6 separate regions of the Homo sapiens genome follow, and regions 1, 2, 3, 4 and 6 are each linked to region 5. The links are contacts of gene promoters, found by promoter capture Hi-C in blood cells and fetal thymus (Javierre and others, 2016). All regions are on one chromosome and are shown on one strand. Each heading gives the region's core, a stretch centred on a gene start or on the middle of the fragment in contact. The rest is flanking DNA. Distances are from core to core; before and after follow the strand shown.

Region 1 (2,700 bases), core at 187-2,686, 160 kb after region 5:
GCATATACTCCCCTTACAACACAGCTTAATATGGTCCAGAGGTGCCCCCACGGGGCTCCACCGCATGAGAACTAGCCCCTACATTGATCTTATAAATGGAATTCATCAGTCTCACTCCCCTGTACTCTACGATTTTTAATCTTCATCTCCCCTCAGTCACCTAATGTCTTCCCAATGGGGTAGAGGCTTCTGAATCGGACATCAGAACAGACGCCTGAGGCTTCCTGCCATGAAAGCTGGTCTTCCTGGAAAGACTGGTAAGACTTTCTTCAGCATGGCTCTCACCCAGACTATGGCACAATAAACTCTCCCAACAGCCCTACAAAACTCTTTGCTCCAATTGCTTAAATGCATAGTTTCTTCCAAAAAGCCAAGAAGCTTGCAAGCCTTCTTAGAAACAAAACCACAGAAGCTGTGGGGTGGAAACTCCATCACGGCCTAACCATGCCCTCTTACCTACTTCTCTGTTTTTAAGACTCTTCATCATAAAACGATCCTCGCTATGAATTCCATCTCCTCTACACCCAAATTTCTTTCCAACGTGGTCCTATTTTAGGAAGTTGACAGAAAGCATAGGCCCATGTTGACTGGCCGTGGAGTTCTCTAAGAAAACTCTAGCTCCCCCTACACCTTGAAATATTGGTAAATATTCTAAATATTGGTAGAGGCCAGAATCATAAAGCTATTGCCTGGAGGAATTCAGAGGGTAGAGGTGATTTCAGACTATTTTATTTTCCCCCTTTGAAGTCTGCCCTCCATGTAACCCCTTTTCAATTCCTTATCTCGTTCTGATAGCAAGGAGAATTTATGGCAACTCAGAAATCTCTTTGGCAGAACTAAATATAATTTTGTACAAAAGGATGGAGGAGGGGAATGGACTCTTTGATGATAAAACCTAACTCATGGCTTTCCTTTGAGCTGAGCTGGAGGCAGTCCCAGAGCAGCTGGGACCAGGACGGCCTCGACATTGCTGTCTTGGCCAGTGTGTTGGGACTCCAGACTGGGGCTTCCAAAGGGAACTGGCAGCAATGTTAGGGGCACTCTTGCTATTCCCCAAACCTTGCTGTTTCTTCTTTCTTGGCTGACTGGGGATGAGCTGAGACTCAGAAGGATAGTCACCTTGGAAATCACACTATCAGAGCCACCAGGCGGAAATAAGTGACCCAGAGAAAAACGCTATGAAGTAGTGAAGGAGTTGCAGGAGGCGGCAGCGAGGGTCCTTGGGAGTCACTCAGAGGCATGTGGAAGATTCACGCGGGTTAAAGCTGAGCTGATTATGGAATGAAAACTCACTGTGTCCTCTCTCCTCTCTCCTGGTCTGCAGCATTACTTAGGAATAATGTGGCCTCAACTTCCTTCTCTTTCTTTATTATTTTTTTCTTTTTTGAGATGGAGTTTCGCTCTTGTTGCCCAGGCTGGAGTGCAATGGCACGATCTCGGCTCACCGCAACCTCCGCCTCCTGGGTTTAAGCAATTCTCCTGCCTCAGCCTCCCGAGTAGCTGGGATTACAGGCATGTGCCACCACGCCTGGCTAATTTTGTATTTTTAGTAGAGATGGGGTTTCTCCATGTTGGTCAGGCTGGTCTCGAACTCCCGACCTCAGGTGATCCACCCACCTTGGCCTCCCAAAGTGCTGGGATTACAGGTGTGAGCCATTGGGCCCAGGTTCCTTCTCTTTCTTTCAAATTCACCTCTTCTTGGGAAGGTCTGCAGCCTCCTGCGCTCCTGGAACCATTCCCTTCCTAACCTTCCCCACCGCCCCCCGTCATGTCCTCCCAGCTCTCTCACCATGGCTCAGCCACGTGTTAGGTATTGAGATCCAGTCTTGACCAGAGGCCTCAGGTGGACAGTCTGTAAGGAGCTCCAGGCCAACACCCTGAGCTCAGCATGGACACCAGCCATCCCCTCCCTTGTGCCTGAGCTGCTTTCTGACTTGCTTCCTACTCTTGGCCATTTGCCTGGACCCCAGATCCTCCAAGGCTAGCACTCCTCACTCTTTTCAGAGCCTCTGCCTCTGTGCTGAATTGTCAACCCTTGGGCTAGGGGGCCCTGTGACCAGCCAGCAACCTTCAAAGTGCTCACACCTGCACTTCAGCATCATCTGGGCCTGGATTGGGGGCCACCAGCCTGAAAGATATGCCGGTGCTGCATATTTGGCTGCCTGCTTCCTACATGACTACCTGGTGTCTGCTGCCAGCTGTTTTGTCCCATGGGTTGGGTGACCTCTCAGTCCTGCAGTTGGCCTGGAGAGTGGGCATGTCCACTAAATTAACAGCTGACAGTAGTTGGAGGCGTCACCTCTGATTGACTGCATGTTGACAGGGGATGCTAACAGGATGACAGGGAGGGGACAAAGTGTAGGGGCTTTGGGAGTAGGGAGTTTGCCCTGGGCTGTTCCAGTTGCACTTTACACTACAGCCTATGTCTGCACTCTGATACATCTATCCACTTCCAGCTGCCCTACATCCTTCCCTCTCCTTCAGCTGGTCTTGCCAAGCTTCTCCGCGGCTTCCACAGCACCTGCTCCCCATCATCATGGGCACCACCACACCCTCACCCCTTGCCTGCCCCATGACCGCCGCCAGCTCTAGCCTGCCATTCTCAGAAGACATGCAGGCTTGCGTAACTCCCTGTAACTGACATGAACCTCTTCTCCTCACCCCCTCCCCTCCCCTCCCCTCCCCTCCCTTCCCTTCCCC
Region 2 (2,774 bases), core at 1-2,500, 210 kb after region 5:
GGCCGGGAAGGGGGAAAACAGGCATCGCGGCCTGGGAGCTCGAGTGTGTTTGAAGGCCCTGCTTCCGGGCGCAGGTGGGGAGGGGGTTTTGACTCCGCGAGCGGCTTAGTCCTCACCAGCCGGACGCCCCGCGCGCGGCGCCCGGCCTGCCCGGTGCTGGGCCAGGAGGAGTCGGAGAGCACCTGAGTGCGCTGCCGGCTCCCGGGCCCGGGACCACCGGCTCCATTGCCGTTGGCTTGAGAGATGCGGGGAGCTCACAGTCCAGCCAGGGGAGTCACTGGGAAGGACTGCGCGCACCCGAGGAAGAGGACTTAGAGGTCGGGGACGGGGAAACGGCAAGTCCAGCACCGGTGCAGCCCAGGGACAGAGCACGAAGAATGTCCACACTAATGCGCCATGCAAGGCTGGGAATGGAGCTCAAAGGAAACCCCCTCTAACTCCACAGAGATCCCCTCACCGATCCATGTGGTCCCTCGAAACCGGGCAAGGGCGGCTCAGCTGGCCGGGTGGAACCCCAGTGCCCGAGAACAGCGAGGCGGCTCCAGCGGAGGGCCAGGCCCCAGGCGCCCCAGCTGGGTCCCCACGCGGGTGGGTCCCGCGAATCCCGTGCTGACGCTCTCGAGATCCAACCACCCGAGCGCACGCACGGACGCTCAGCGGCGCGGGGGCTCGGGGATCCTGACCACACCGCGTTCTTACCAGATCTGATGGAGTTGTGAGGCATCGCCGGGGAGTCGCTCGCAGCCCGCCGAGGGCTCGGGGCTTCCTCCCGTAGGTCCGGGCCGCGCCTGCCGCTGCCCTGCACAAACCCAGGAGAAGGGCATGAGATGCGATGAGATTCGATGCCTGCATCCTCAGGCCCCCTCCCCAGGCCTCATCCTTTACACCTGCATCGTCTGCCAGGAGTAGGAGGATTTTTAGGCGAAGTAGGGCCAACCTCAGCCTAGCCTAGCTAACAGGCTTCCCGGGAGGATCAAGGATTGGGAGTGCGCTGAAGAAGCTCCAGACTCCAACCTCCGTGCCCACTCCCTCCGCTGTCCCAGTCTTATCCCGTTTAACTTGGGAGGGAAAAGGCTGCCAGGCATCCTGGGACCCTCTCCTTTCTTCCATCCCCCGTCCTCACTGCTAGCCAGCTTCCAGCTAACCCCTGGGTGACATACCTGGCCGGCCGGCTGCAGGCCCTCACTGCTTGGGTCCGCCCGCGAGGGTGCCCTGGGCCCGGTGTCTCTCCTCCTTCTGAAGTTTGTTCCCATCCACCCGGCATCACCGACCGGTTTTATCCCGCTGAGGCCCTGGGAGATGGGTCTGGCGAGGCTCGTAGGCCGCGGATTGGCTGGCTGGGTGCAGGGGGGTGCGGGAAGGGGAGGATTTTGCAAGGGGGACATGGCTGAGTGGACTCAGGAGTTAGAAACATTCGCTGGGAGCTTCTGTTTCCAGCGGAGGGAAGAGGGAGGCAGCTGAGCCCTAACTCAGCAGGCCTGGAAATATTGGAGGAGTGGGGAACAGAGGCCTAGGAGCCTGAGGATGAGGTTCTCTGGGTCCTCCTGGGTCACTGACCACCAGAAGTGAGAGGGATGGTCTCTGTAGGATGCCCTCCTTGCCCCCTGTCTCCCCTGGTTTGCTCACCAGGAAGCAGCCTTTTCTTTTGTAAAAGGAAGGAGGGAACTTCTGTTTTATGCCTGATTCTTTAGGTAGAGCCTGCTTTCGGGGCTGTAGGCAAGATGCTATTACCTTCTCACCACAGCTATGACCTCTTCCAGGGAAGAATCCTGAGCAGCACCTGAAGCCATTCCCTCTGTTCTACACAGATAGCGTTCACACCCTTGCATTGTCAGGCTAACAAAATTGTCACATAACCCATTCCACAGCAACTCCTCGCCTCTCTCCTCTGGAACACACACGCAGCCACCTGCCCTCTTTCTTGCTCCTTGAGGATTTTGAACTTGGAAGAAGAGTTCAGGGGAAGGGCATTGAGGGCCTAGACTTCATCTCTGTGTGGAAAGGCCTTAGAAAGGAACAGGACTGAGCTGACCTCTGGCCTGGTCTGTAGGAATCAATAGCCTCAGCAATATGGGGGCCTGGGTGTGGTTAAGAAGGGGTCCACTGGTGGGAATGATGGCAGGGTTGGTGAGCCCTGGGACCGAGCAGAGCTGCCTGGCACCTCTTTACCTTAGTGATGGCAAAAGCTGCCCCCTCCTTCCTCATAGTTCTCTCAGTCGGGGAACCGGGGTACACGTAAGATTGTGAGTGGGTATGAGTGAGCAAATGTCCTGGAACACTGGCAGGCCTGGGGGTCAAGGCCTGGATGCTCCTCCAATCTTTGGCCAGACCTCTGGACTCAGGATTACAGTCTAGAGGACAGCCATGCCCTTTTCAGTGATGGCTCTGCAGGCCTGGTGGGGTTGTTCTGGGACAGGAGGCTAAGAAGCCAGTGGGAGGGGGGCAAGGAAGGTGCAGGGGAAACTGGGATATTCAGGGGGATTGGATGTGTGTGTGTGTGTGTGTGTGTGTGTGTGTATGCACATATGTACACGTGTGTGAAAACACATGAACTATTTTTCTGAATTAAAAAAGTTTTCTCTTTCATGTCAATCCACAACCTCCTTCCACCCAGTCTTTCTCATTTCTCAATTTAGGAGAAATGAATCATCTTGTGAAAAAAGAGAGAAGAAGATGTGTATCCCTACATGTTTCCTCCACATTTGCAAAGAGGGGCTGTAAACAAAAATAGTTGGTGCTTCATCATTTTAAATCTTTCTCTAAAATTGTAATTT
Region 3 (2,700 bases), core at 125-2,624, 150 kb before region 5:
GTGACAAAAAAGTACATAGTATATTTAGTAGATGTTTCCCACACAGAGAAATGGTAAATATTCAAGGCGAGGAATACTCCAAACATCCTACCTTGATCATTACACATTCCGTGCATGTAATGAGTACTTGCATGTATGCCATAAATATGTGAAATATTATGTATCACTATATAAAAGAAAAAAAAATGTGGCCAGGTGACATCCATATTTTGGAGAGGAAGGCATGTCTTCTTCATAATATCACAAAACTATTTTCACAACAAAGACACAGCTGTTCAAATTAGTCTCTGAGCCGGGGCTGTCTCATGGCAGTGAGGACTCTGGTTCCCTTACAGACTAGCAGAAAGGAGATGGGGCTTACTGACCATGGCCTTGAGGAGGCCGAACATGCAGGCCAAATGGAGACACAGACAGCCTGGGCTTGGTCCTGCTCCATCCCCTTCCAACCTGATGAGATATAGTGAGTCACTATGACATGGGTCACTCATGCTTCCTGTGAGGCTCCACCAAGACAGCAAGTGCATCAACACCTTACGGAAGCACAAGGCCCTGTTTGTTGTTGACTTCATGAAAGGCATGGTTGTGGTGATCGCATTGAGTAGGCTTTTGGGTGAGAGGTGAAAAACCCCAACTATCATGCATTGCAGCCCTCTGGTGGAAACTGTGCTTCAGGCTCTAAATTTCAGGCTCTAGACTGACTCCGGGATGAGTATTTGGAAGCTGAAGTCAATCTGTGGTCTCTTCTCCTGTAGAGCAGGAGTCAGCACTTTTCATAGAGTGCCAGATTCTATATATCCTGCCACATGCTCTGTTGTTACAGAACAAAGAAGGCCATAGACAGCATGGCTGTGTTGGCAAATACACAAAACAGGCAATAAGCTGTATTTGGCCTTTAGGCTGCAGTTTGCCAACCCCTGCACTAACACAGAGCTTAAAGGTGGTGGTGGTGTGCTGGAGCTAGCTTATATCAGCTTGCAATAGCCAATTGCTAACATCTCTTCCAAACTCTGTGTCTGTGCCTTGATGTTGATAGTTTGAAATTGGCTACCCCATTTAATGCTGCAATCTTTTCTCACCCCAGCACTACTGACTCCCCTTTGCCCTGTCTTATTTTTCTCACTCTAACATGCTGTATAGTTTTCTTCTTACATTTATTGTTTGTGTCTTCCACTAGCATGTATGTCCCACAAGTTCTTTGCTCTGTGATGTATCCCAAGAACCCACTGCAGTGCTTGGCACTTGTAGGAACTCCATAAGATTTTTATAAATGAAGAAAGGAAGAAAAAAGAGAGGGAGGGAGAAAGGAAAGGAAGCCTTCTATTTAAATGATGGCCTTCTCCATATTTCTATAGTAATATGACTTCCCTTGCAAAGGAGATGCATTTTGGAAAATGTGTATAAATAAACTCAGGTGGTTTTGAATTTCATTTTCCTAACTGTAATTGTAATCATTGGTCTTTATGTTTAGTGAAAAAGTTTTGGCCCTTATGCCTCACACCTGAGAATCCCAAAGTATTGGTTTGTTAGAGCTCCCATAGAGAACCATAAACTGGGTGGCTTAAAACAACAGAAATGTATCGTCTCCTGGTTCAGGAGGCCAAAGTCTGAACTCCAGGTGTTGGTTCATTCTGAGAGCTCTGAGAGAGAATCTGTTCCAGGCCTCCCTTCAGTTTGTGGTAGCTCCAGGGTTCCTTGGCTGGTGGCAGCAAAACTCCAGTCTCTGCCCCCATCTTCACATGACTGTCTTCTCTCTGTGTTTCTGTGTCCAGATTGTCCTATAAGGACAGAGTCATACTGAATTAGGGCTCACTCGAATGACTTCATCTTAAGTTGAACTGTATCTGTAAAGACCTTATTTCCAAGTAAGGTCACATTCACAGCTACTGGGGGATAGGACCTCAACATATCTTTTTGGGGGACATAATTCAACTCATAATACCCAACATGATAACTGTTCATCCCATGAAATTTAATGTCTCTCAAAAGGTGATCTCAGGGCATTTAATCTGTGACAGAAACTCCCATAGGAAACATTCCAACCAGAAGCTCCTTTCACAGCTGGTCACTCCTCCTACCCCATCCGAGGTCCTGGGGCAGGGTGAGGCAGGTGGGGACAAGAAGAAGGCTGTCTCGGGTGTAGAAAGAGAAGACCCTTATTCACCCGGCACTCTGTTCATGAATGAGCTATCCAGCATAGGATATAATAAATCGCTTTAGGAGTGGTAGACTCCAAACATTTTTTTGGTCCCAGTTATCCTAATCAATTAAACAAACTCTAGAACACATCTTGAAGTGCAGGCATTGGGACATTATGAAACTTACACAGAATTCAAAAATTTACAAGGGCTAAATAAAACAGGGTCTGACATCTAATATTTTCTTCCCACATTCCCATGCACTGTCTGGCTCAACCATCCCCAACCCTCACTCTCATCCTGGTGGACACATGCCTAGTGATGTGATCAGCTGGTTCACAGGGGGCTGGTGATGGTGGATATACAGCTTTTGCCAATTTCCATGGCATAACTACTCCAAATATGGCCAATTTCAAACTACCAACATGAAGGCACAGACACAGAGTTTGGAAGAGATGTTAGCAATTGGCTATTGCAAGCTGATATAAGCTAGCTCCAGCACAGCACCACCGCTACCTTTAAGCTCCTTGTGTTAGTGCAAGGGTTGGCAAACTGCAGCCTAAAG
Region 4 (2,700 bases), core at 201-2,700, 150 kb after region 5:
GGATGCTTCCTGGCATTTCCTGAGGAGGTCAGGGACTCCGAGCTCTCCCCAAACATTCCCTGTCTCTTTCCCTCATTCATAGCCCTGGAGACACGAATGTCTCTCAAACAGTCGGGAAAGGAATAATTGCTGTAGACTCAGTAGAAAAGGAAAAAAACTAGAAAACTAGAAGAAGTGAACAAAGGAAGGAGATAGAGGTGAGAGAGAGGGAGTTTCTTCCATGAGAACCATAGCCATGGCGGCTCGGTCACTTGGCGTCAGAAGGTAGCACAGCAGCCTGGGGCAGAGGAGCCACCAGCTCCTTTATGGAACATGGAAGGCTTTATGACCTTAAAGGTTAGAGAGGGGCTGCCAAAGGGCACCCTGAAGGGAGATTTAGGGCCAAGGATGGAGGGAAGTCTGAGATCAGCCTGGCACAAATCTGCCTGGTCCCAGTGCTTCTTCAGTTGAGCTCTGGGCCTTGCGTCCAGTCACGCTTTGCAGGGAGGGGCAGCAGAAGTCACTGTGCCCCAACTGGCCAAGTGACTTCTGCCGCCCCTCCCTGCAAAGCAAAGAGTGTCTGACATCTCTCAGAAGCCTGGCCATATCCAGATATCTGAGGCCTGACAATAGGATGCAGACTAGGCCTTGGATTAGGGGTAAGGCTGTGGTCCCTGCTCCTCTGCTGACTCGCTGAATGACCTTGAAAAAGTCAAGTTATCTCTTGGTCTCAGATTCCCCAAGTGCAAAATAAAAGGGGGCCAATATTCAGAATCAGAGATGTAAATGGATGTGAATGGGCTTTGTATGGAAAAAGAAACTAAGCCTGTGGAGAGGGTTATTACCACTTCTGAGGCTGAGGCAGGACAGAGATGCTGTTAAGCTGTGGGTGCAGGAGCTGCCTAGGAGGGAGCTCAATCCCTCCCTCCCCGCGGCCTCCCTCAGTCCTGATTGACAGGACTGATGCTGACGCCCAGGCCCAGTAGTAATGGCGTTGAGGTCTGCAGTCCCCTTCCTCTGGTGCCCACCCCCAGAGGACAAGGAAGTGTGAATTATCTTAAAGAAGGCTCATGGGTTTTTGTTTTGTTTTTGTTTTTTTTTGAGATAGAGTTTTGCTCTGTCACCCAGGCTAGAGTGCAGTGGTGCGATCTCAGCTCACTGCAACCTCCGTCTCCAGGGTTCAAGTGATTCTCCTGCCTCAGCCTCTTGAGTAGCTGGGATTACAGGCATGCGCCAACATGCCTGGCTAATTTTTGTGTTTTTAGTAGAGACGGGGTTTCACCATGTTGGCCAGGCTGGTCTCAAACTCCTGACCTCATGATCCACCCGCCTCAGCCTCCCAAAGTGCTAGGATTACAGGCGTGAGCCACAGTGCCTGGCCAGGAAGCCTCATGTTGGTATGGATGGGAAAGGTGTGTGTATTTTGGGTGGTGGAAGTGGGAGGATGGTGAGGGCAGGTGGGAGAGGGGAGATCTTAGCAACAGCCTCAACCTGTCTGTCTTTCTGTTTCTATTTGGAGGCTCCTGCTTCCACTTCCAGTAGGTTTCACTAACTCCTCTTGCCTGAAGTTGTCACCAGGGTTGAGTGTGTGTTTTTGAGTGTGTGTTTGGCACACAGAGGGCAGAAGATACATGTTTCTTAGTCTCACAACTCATGGCAAGGATATTGGAGAAGTAAGAGATGATGTGACAAGGGGAGGGGTTGGAACTAGCCTGGGGGCTGGCTTTGTAGGTGAGGACTCCCAGTTCCGCTGTCTCTAGTCCTGGAACTTTGTGGTAGAGGTTACGGGGTCACAGCAATTCTGTTCATCTGGTGGGCCCCAGGCAGGGTTCCAGCTGCCCCCTTTCCCAGCAAGAAACCCACTGACCTGCCAGAGTTGGTTGGTCCACATGAATTTCCTGCAAGCTCCTAGCACCCTGGGCTGGCCTGGCCTGTGCTAGAACCTGAGGATGAAGAGGAGTGAGGGTAATGGACCAGGGAGAAGTTAAGAGTAAACTGCCTGGGAAGCTCAGGTGGTCTCTCTACATGAGCAGTGAAAGGGATTATTCCAGGGGGAAGGGATAGGCCCTCAGTGCTCTCAATGCCTCAGCAATGTTTTGGGCCCATCCTCATCCCCAATTCTCCTACAAACACACATACCACCCCCAGAGAACCCCTGGCTCCCCTGCACCATAAAGCGACCCCCCTTCACCTGCGACCACTCACAGAAGCCGCCCTCCCTACCCCAGGTGAAAGTGGCCCCTCGGCCAACCCTCAAAGCCCCCTGCGTGTCCTCCCTGTCCTTGCCATCCCACCTTTCTTCATTGCGTCCCCCCATGTGCCAGCCTGACTCCTCCCAACACCACCCCAAATGCCGGGGCACGTCGAATTGTCTTTCTTTCGCCCGATACATAAATGGCCTTATTTTCTGAGCCCGAAAAGGGGACCCATGGTTTGACCATGGGCAGAATATTGGATGGGTACTAGCCAAGGCCTGTTACATGGGGAACACATCCCACAGTCAACAAACACCCGCTCTGAGCAGAGGCTCCTGGCAAGCCCAGCTCACCTCCGGGAAAGAAAGGCGAGTTTTAAACCATGGTCACCTTAGTCAAAGCACAGCCCAAGCCCCTTTATTGGTTGTGAGTTGGAAAGGGTCTGCCGGGGGTACAGAGTGTCCCCAGAGGGGCTGTGGCTGTGAATGCAAGGGATCGCTCTATGGGCTCCTTGGGATGCTGTGCT
Region 5 (2,700 bases), core at 97-2,596:
CTGCCACTATTGTTTCCAACATGTCCTTGGCCCACAGCTTAGAGAGTCTGGTCTTCTTAATTATCTTTTCAAGTGTTTATGACTTAGTTCCTCAGCTAGACTGTGAAACTACTTAACAACAAGGACTGTGTATTGAATGTCTGTGTCACACAGCAGTGTAAATGCTGGGTAAACACTCATTGGTTGCCTGACATAGTAACTCATGCTTTAAGCCTTCCCATAGAAGGGTGAGAGATTGGGAGAGTGGAAGAAGAATGATCACTGGCCTTAGAAAGCAGAAATCTGGTCCCATTTCTGCCCATCTTTTCTCATTTCTCATCCTGCAGGCATCTGAGTCTTAGACCCACCTATCCCACTTCCTCAAGAAGCCCTTGGTGGAACTTTGCAAATGACCAAAGAGGGAGAATTATAATAAGGTTGTTAGTTTCCAGAGAACATTACACCTAAGCTTCTCCACGCTTGTAATGGAGGGATGGATGGATGGATGGATGGATGGATGGATGAATGGATGGATGAAAGGGTGGACAGAAGGGTGGATGGATGGGCACATGGGTGGATGGATGGTTGGATGGATGATGGATGGATGGAAGAATGGACAGATGGGTAGATAGATGGACAGATGGGTGGCCGGGTGGATGGATGGATGGATGGACTGAGTCAAGTAATGTCAATTAGAGACCTGAGTGTTCTTTCCTCTGTGCTCTACTCACACTATCATATTTCCTAGCAGTCCATGGCACATGATGTCTGCTCAGTCTCAGGGTGAATCTGAGGTCAATATCTTTGCAGTTGGGTTTCCCTAGATGTTCTGTCCCATCAAGCTGGTACCAACTAATTAAACCCACTGAAAAGCAGAGACTCCCTTCTCGTCTTTCCAAACAGAGTCACACTCACAGTGCTATCAGCCCCTTCTCTTATTCTGGCTGTCTGGCCACAGCCTGGATTCCGGCATCAGAATTTGTTCTGTCCTTGGGCTTGCCAGACATACTTTCTCTTGTATTCACCACCTCTTCAAGCCTAGGATGGAGCCCCACGGGGCACCAAAGATGTCTGACCCCAGCACTGTTTATCTGGCTGCAAACCCACTAATAACATAGTCAACGACAGTCAGTACAGAGCAGGGGCCCCATACCTTATTTCTGCCAAGGCTTTATGGATGACTCTCTCCCCCTTCAACAAATGCTCCTTAATGTTCCCACCATCTTATTATTCATGCTGTACCAAAGACATTGTGAAATGCCCAGGCTCTTCTTCCTTCATGTCCTGCAGCCAATTATAGAGATTGGTGCAGGCCTGACCCACCTGTACCAGACGGTATAAACACAGCGCAATGCCCTGGAGAAATCAGTTGGAGTCTCCAGGGATCAGGGTTCCAGGAACTCAGGATCTGCAGGTCAGTGATGGACAGGCAATATTCTCTCTCTCTTTTCTTTCTTTTCTACTCTCTCCTGTCAATATCTCTGGTATGCCCTCTATCCCTTCACTCCTCCTGGCAAGCTGTCTAGGTAACAAGGTAGTCCCCTCATATGACATGATGGGACATCAAAAACATTTAGGAGCACATAAAGAGATTTGAGGAGAAGGAATAGGTTAAGCCAAATCAAGATTTCTGAACTACTTAGAACAACTGACTTTAGAAAGTAATCTCAAAAGAAACCATCTGGGCCAATGGTATTCAAACCGTGTTTGGTGGAAGCTTAAGAGATTTTTTGTTTTCGTTTTTTTTTTTTTTGTGCTCCTTGGTAGCTCCTCAGTGTCTTCTTTGTAGGCAAGAGAAATACTAGCAGGGTTCCAAAGTCTCCATTGCTTCCTGTGTCAGCAAAGCAGCTGCCCTTTATCCTTTTTACAATCATTAGAATTCTGCATAAAATTTTATTGTGAAACTTAAAACAGTTTTGAAAGATACCTTACTCAATCTTTCCATCCAATGTTGATAAGTTGAAGGCCCAGGGATAAAAGGTGGCAAAATAAATTGGTAGCAGAGCTAGGTCTAGGACTCAGCCTTTCTATTCAAAGTCTGCTCTGTGTGTTTCTATGTCCTGGCCACAAGGACCAGGGTAGTTCAATTAGGGTGGTTGGAGAGAGCTTCAAGTGAGCTGTAAGCCATGCTTCATGACTTCAAGATCTTATAAACTTTTATAAGGGAAACAAATATCTTTATGTACAACAATAAATAATACAGTAAAATTTAATAGGAGTTCAGAGTAGAGTTACAATAGTAAGGGAAAGATTCATTAAACTCTGAGTCATGGAATTATAAATAGTTTGGCCTAGAAAGAACCTTCATAACCACATAATCTAATCCCATGAATGTATAGTGCTGAAACTGAGGGTTGGAGGTTAAAAGACATAACCCTGTATGTCTAAGCTGTAACTCTACACTGGTAATTAATTTGATAGAACTAGATACTGAACCCATCTATACTGATACTATCTCCAGTGATCTTAATATCAAAAGATCTGAATGGATGACAATGAGAAGGGATGACTTTTGAGGCAGGGAGAACAATGGGACACCTGTGAGTACGTCCACTGAGAAGATAAGAAAGGAATTATGTCGCCAGGAGGTGTGGTTTAGTGTCCATGGAGAAGTGAGATGCTATCACACAAGAAAATCAGTGCCAGACGGTGACAAAACAGTCAGTCACTGTAGATTCTAGAGCTGGGCAGGGATGTGGTGAAAAAAATCTTTAGAACGTG
Region 6 (2,700 bases), core at 42-2,541, 180 kb after region 5:
ACCATTCAGGGAGGTCTTAGGACTTTGTTGGTAATTTCTTCATCCTTTATAGAGCTCTGAGTAGTTGGGATGGCAGAAAGAAAACAGAGACACTTATTGACCAAAATTCTTGTTATATGCACCAATATCCAAACCCTTAAGATGTGGAAATCCTTTCTCCATGTTCCTATAGTCCTTTGCACAAATTCCTATCATAGCACTGACTGCATTGAACAGTAACTTTCTCTATTTGAGTTTCTTTATGAGTTACTCAAAGGCAGGGGCCCTGTCTTTGTCTACTGTAATTAGTGTTTTCTTATATACAAGTGATAGAAAAATGGTTTACATTGGTTATGGTTGTTGCATGGATTCCCATGATTCTGCATGGTGGGACCCCCAAATCCCATGCTTCAGTACTTTCCTCTTTATCCTTTTGCTTTATCTTTTGCGGCTCTGCCCAGTCCTAAAGTGGCAATGGCTCAATGTGGTGTTCTGCAAAAATTTCCACTTAACTATCTGGGGCTTTTTGCTTTAGTCCCATAGAGTGTCAAGGTGATAGCTGAGCCTTGGCAGGGCTATAGTGAGAGGTGCAGTGGCCTCTTTGGGTGCCTTTCAAATCATGCCAGGCCTATACGCCTTCCACAAAGGAAAGGCCTTGTCCATGCGAATCAGTCCCTGGCATTCTCAGCTTGGTGTTGTTGCCTTCCCCAGCTGCTCACTTGCAGGTCTGTGATCTCCATGTGCCACCTCCCAGCTAATCCTCTTGGCTTGGTGCCTTTCTGGAGTAAAGGCCAGGGTCTGTGCCTCCAACTGCTCCTGAAGAAAGTGTCCCAGGGCCATGGAATCCCAGTGTCCAAAGTCTGCACACTGGATCATGCCAGCACACATGAGGTTATGGGTTACCTGGACACATGAGACCCTTGGACTGGGTAAAAGAGGCTGGCATGCTGGAAAGCAGCATCCTGCATCTGCTGTTACCCCCAACTTGCTGCATGACCCTTGGTTACCTCTGTGCCTTACACTTGTCTTCCTAAGGGAAACTGTAGCCGAAAGACAGCAGCTAGGCAAAGCTGCGGCTTGTGTTTCTCATTGATCTCTTGCCCTTCTACCTGTGCTGGAATCCTACTCCGTCAATTATCCTCCCATTTAAAAACATTACTTACCTCTTCTTTTATACCAGGTCCTTCCCCTAAACGTACAAATGGAATTAAATTAATCTATGTTGCCTCTCCACCCCCTGACCTCAAAATACATTAAACAAAAAAAATTCTTCCCTTGACCATGATACTCTTCTTTCCTATTGTTTTCAACTAAATTTCTCAAAAAGCAGCTATACTTGCAGCCCATTCCTCCCTTCACATTCGGTGCTCAGCCTGCTCTGTGCCTCCTGCTTAGCATGTGCTTGGTGATGAGTGGCCATGGATGGACAGTGAGTGGTTGGAGGGTGCCATGTTCTCCCTCTTGAAGAGATTTTAGTGACAATCCCATCTCCTGATTCCTTATACCTTCAGTCTAGGCTTTTTGCTTTGCTTTAATGGGGTTCTGTTCCCTTATTTGCTCCATGACATATGTTTTCTCCCTTCAGGCTTCTCTTAGTTCTCAGTGTTTCTCTCCCCCTTCAAGGCCATCCTTGGTGATCCTACACACCCTTATTGTCATACCTACTACCCATCTCATGATGGCATCATGGGCATCCCAGGTAACCCCAGTCAGGTCCTTCCCCCAACTTTTGTTTTCAATTTCTATTGGAGATTTCCTCTTAGGTGATAAGGGGGCTCCTCCTCTAGTGTTGTCTTGGTTGGTAACAATACCAGCTGTCATGCAAGCTCAGGGCCTGCCCCTTCCACTCAACCTCCTGCCACCTGCCACCACACTCTCTGCACCGCACTGTCATCGGTCTTCTGCACAACCTTGGAAGTAACAGTGTGTCCCCAGCCTTGGGGCACTTGCACATGCTGTTCCCTCCTCCTGGAGCTCTTGTCTCCCTGTCGTATCTAGTTAACTCCTGCTCATCCTTTATATTTCAGCACTGAGTCACTTCCTCGGTGGCTTTGCTTTATCCTGCAGAGTAGGTTCAGGCTTCTGTTTGGGTGTTCTAATAACATGCTTTACCTTTCTTGAATGGCTGTCATAGAAAGGTAGCATCAAATATAACTGCTGTTTGGAATCTGGTTGAAAGTGAGGGGAAGAAAAAGTCTCATAGTCAAGGGAGGAATTTTGGGGGGACTGGGGAGGTATCATAGATAAATTTAATTGCATCTTTAGGTCCAAATTTTAATTTTACATTTTTTGCATAACTATATATGTATGAATCATAACTGTCTTCTATCACCAGATAGAAAGCTCCATGAGGGGAAGACTTCTTTCGTTTTGATCATTATTAAATTATATTAGGTGTTCAGTAAACATGTCACATGAATCAACTAATAGCCTTTATCTTTTTCCATTCTCTGCATATGGAATACTCACAAGACCACGTTTTACCTCCTAAATATTTACCTAACCAATACCTTCCTGTCTGTCCCCAGCATTCAAATATTCCTGCATTCATTTATCCATTCTACATGTATTTTATATGCCTACCATGTGGCAAACATTTTAATAGAACTGATTACATAGAATTGATTTCTACCTTCATGAAGCTTTCAGGCTAGGGATAGGTAGGCTGGGGATGGGTATATATTTAAAAAGTAAATACAGAAATAAATGTGTAATTACTAC

The links. Contacts are between HindIII fragments. The CHiCAGO score rates a contact against its expected background, and 5 or more counts as called.
Region 1: a fragment that was not itself captured here is called in contact with the fragment with the promoter of IL1F10 in region 5 in 2 of 17 cell types (neutrophils and M1 macrophages); the score reaches 5.8 in neutrophils.
Region 2: a contact is called between the fragment with the promoter of PAX8 here and the fragment with the promoter of IL1F10 in region 5, in 3 of 17 cell types (M1 macrophages, erythroblasts and M2 macrophages). The highest score is 7.0, in M1 macrophages.
Region 3: a fragment that was not itself captured here is called in contact with the fragment with the promoter of IL1F10 in region 5 in 2 of 17 cell types (M2 macrophages and M1 macrophages); the score reaches 7.1 in M2 macrophages.
Region 4: a contact is called between a fragment that was not itself captured here and the fragment with the promoter of IL1F10 in region 5, in 6 of 17 cell types (erythroblasts, M1 macrophages, M2 macrophages and 3 more). The highest score is 6.7, in erythroblasts.
Region 6: a contact is called between a fragment that was not itself captured here and the fragment with the promoter of IL1F10 in region 5, in 2 of 17 cell types (M1 macrophages and erythroblasts). The highest score is 6.4, in M1 macrophages.

Annotation. Positions count from the first base shown.
Region 1 is chr2:113,230,360-113,233,059 of GRCh38, forward strand. All of the region lies in intron 9 of PAX8 (paired box 8), which reads right to left. Among named protein-coding and RNA genes, the nearest start is that of PAX8-AS1, 4.6 kb to the right of the region's middle. The HindIII fragment of the contact is 2,120 bases long and covers 377-2,496 here.
Region 2 is chr2:113,277,671-113,280,444 of GRCh38, forward strand. It overlaps PAX8 (paired box 8), which reads right to left and starts at 1,251. Exons shown (of 12, transcript NM_003466.4): 1 at 1,161-1,251; 2 at 700-799. The coding sequence starts at 724. RefSeq lists a promoter at 724-1,853. The HindIII fragment of the contact is 9,772 bases long and covers 1-2,774 here.
Region 3 is chr2:112,920,577-112,923,276 of GRCh38, forward strand. No RefSeq gene overlaps it. Among named protein-coding and RNA genes, the nearest start is that of IL37, 11 kb to the left of the region's middle. The HindIII fragment of the contact is 6,002 bases long and covers 1-2,700 here.
Region 4 is chr2:113,213,437-113,216,136 of GRCh38, forward strand. It overlaps PAX8 (paired box 8), which reads right to left. Exons shown (of 12, transcript NM_003466.4): 12 at 2,561-2,700. Among named protein-coding and RNA genes, the nearest start is that of PAX8-AS1, 21 kb to the right of the region's middle. The HindIII fragment of the contact is 5,230 bases long and covers 1-2,700 here.
Region 5 is chr2:113,066,624-113,069,323 of GRCh38, forward strand. It overlaps IL1F10 (interleukin 1 family member 10), which reads left to right and starts at 1,347. Exons shown (of 5, transcript NM_173161.3): 1 at 1,347-1,393. The HindIII fragment of the contact is 1,248 bases long and covers 447-1,694 here.
Region 6 is chr2:113,251,656-113,254,355 of GRCh38, forward strand. All of the region lies in intron 2 of PAX8 (paired box 8), which reads right to left. The region is part of intron 2 of PAX8-AS1 (PAX8 antisense RNA 1); the gene reads left to right. Among named protein-coding and RNA genes, the nearest start is that of PAX8-AS1, 17 kb to the left of the region's middle. The HindIII fragment of the contact is 2,655 bases long and covers 1-2,619 here.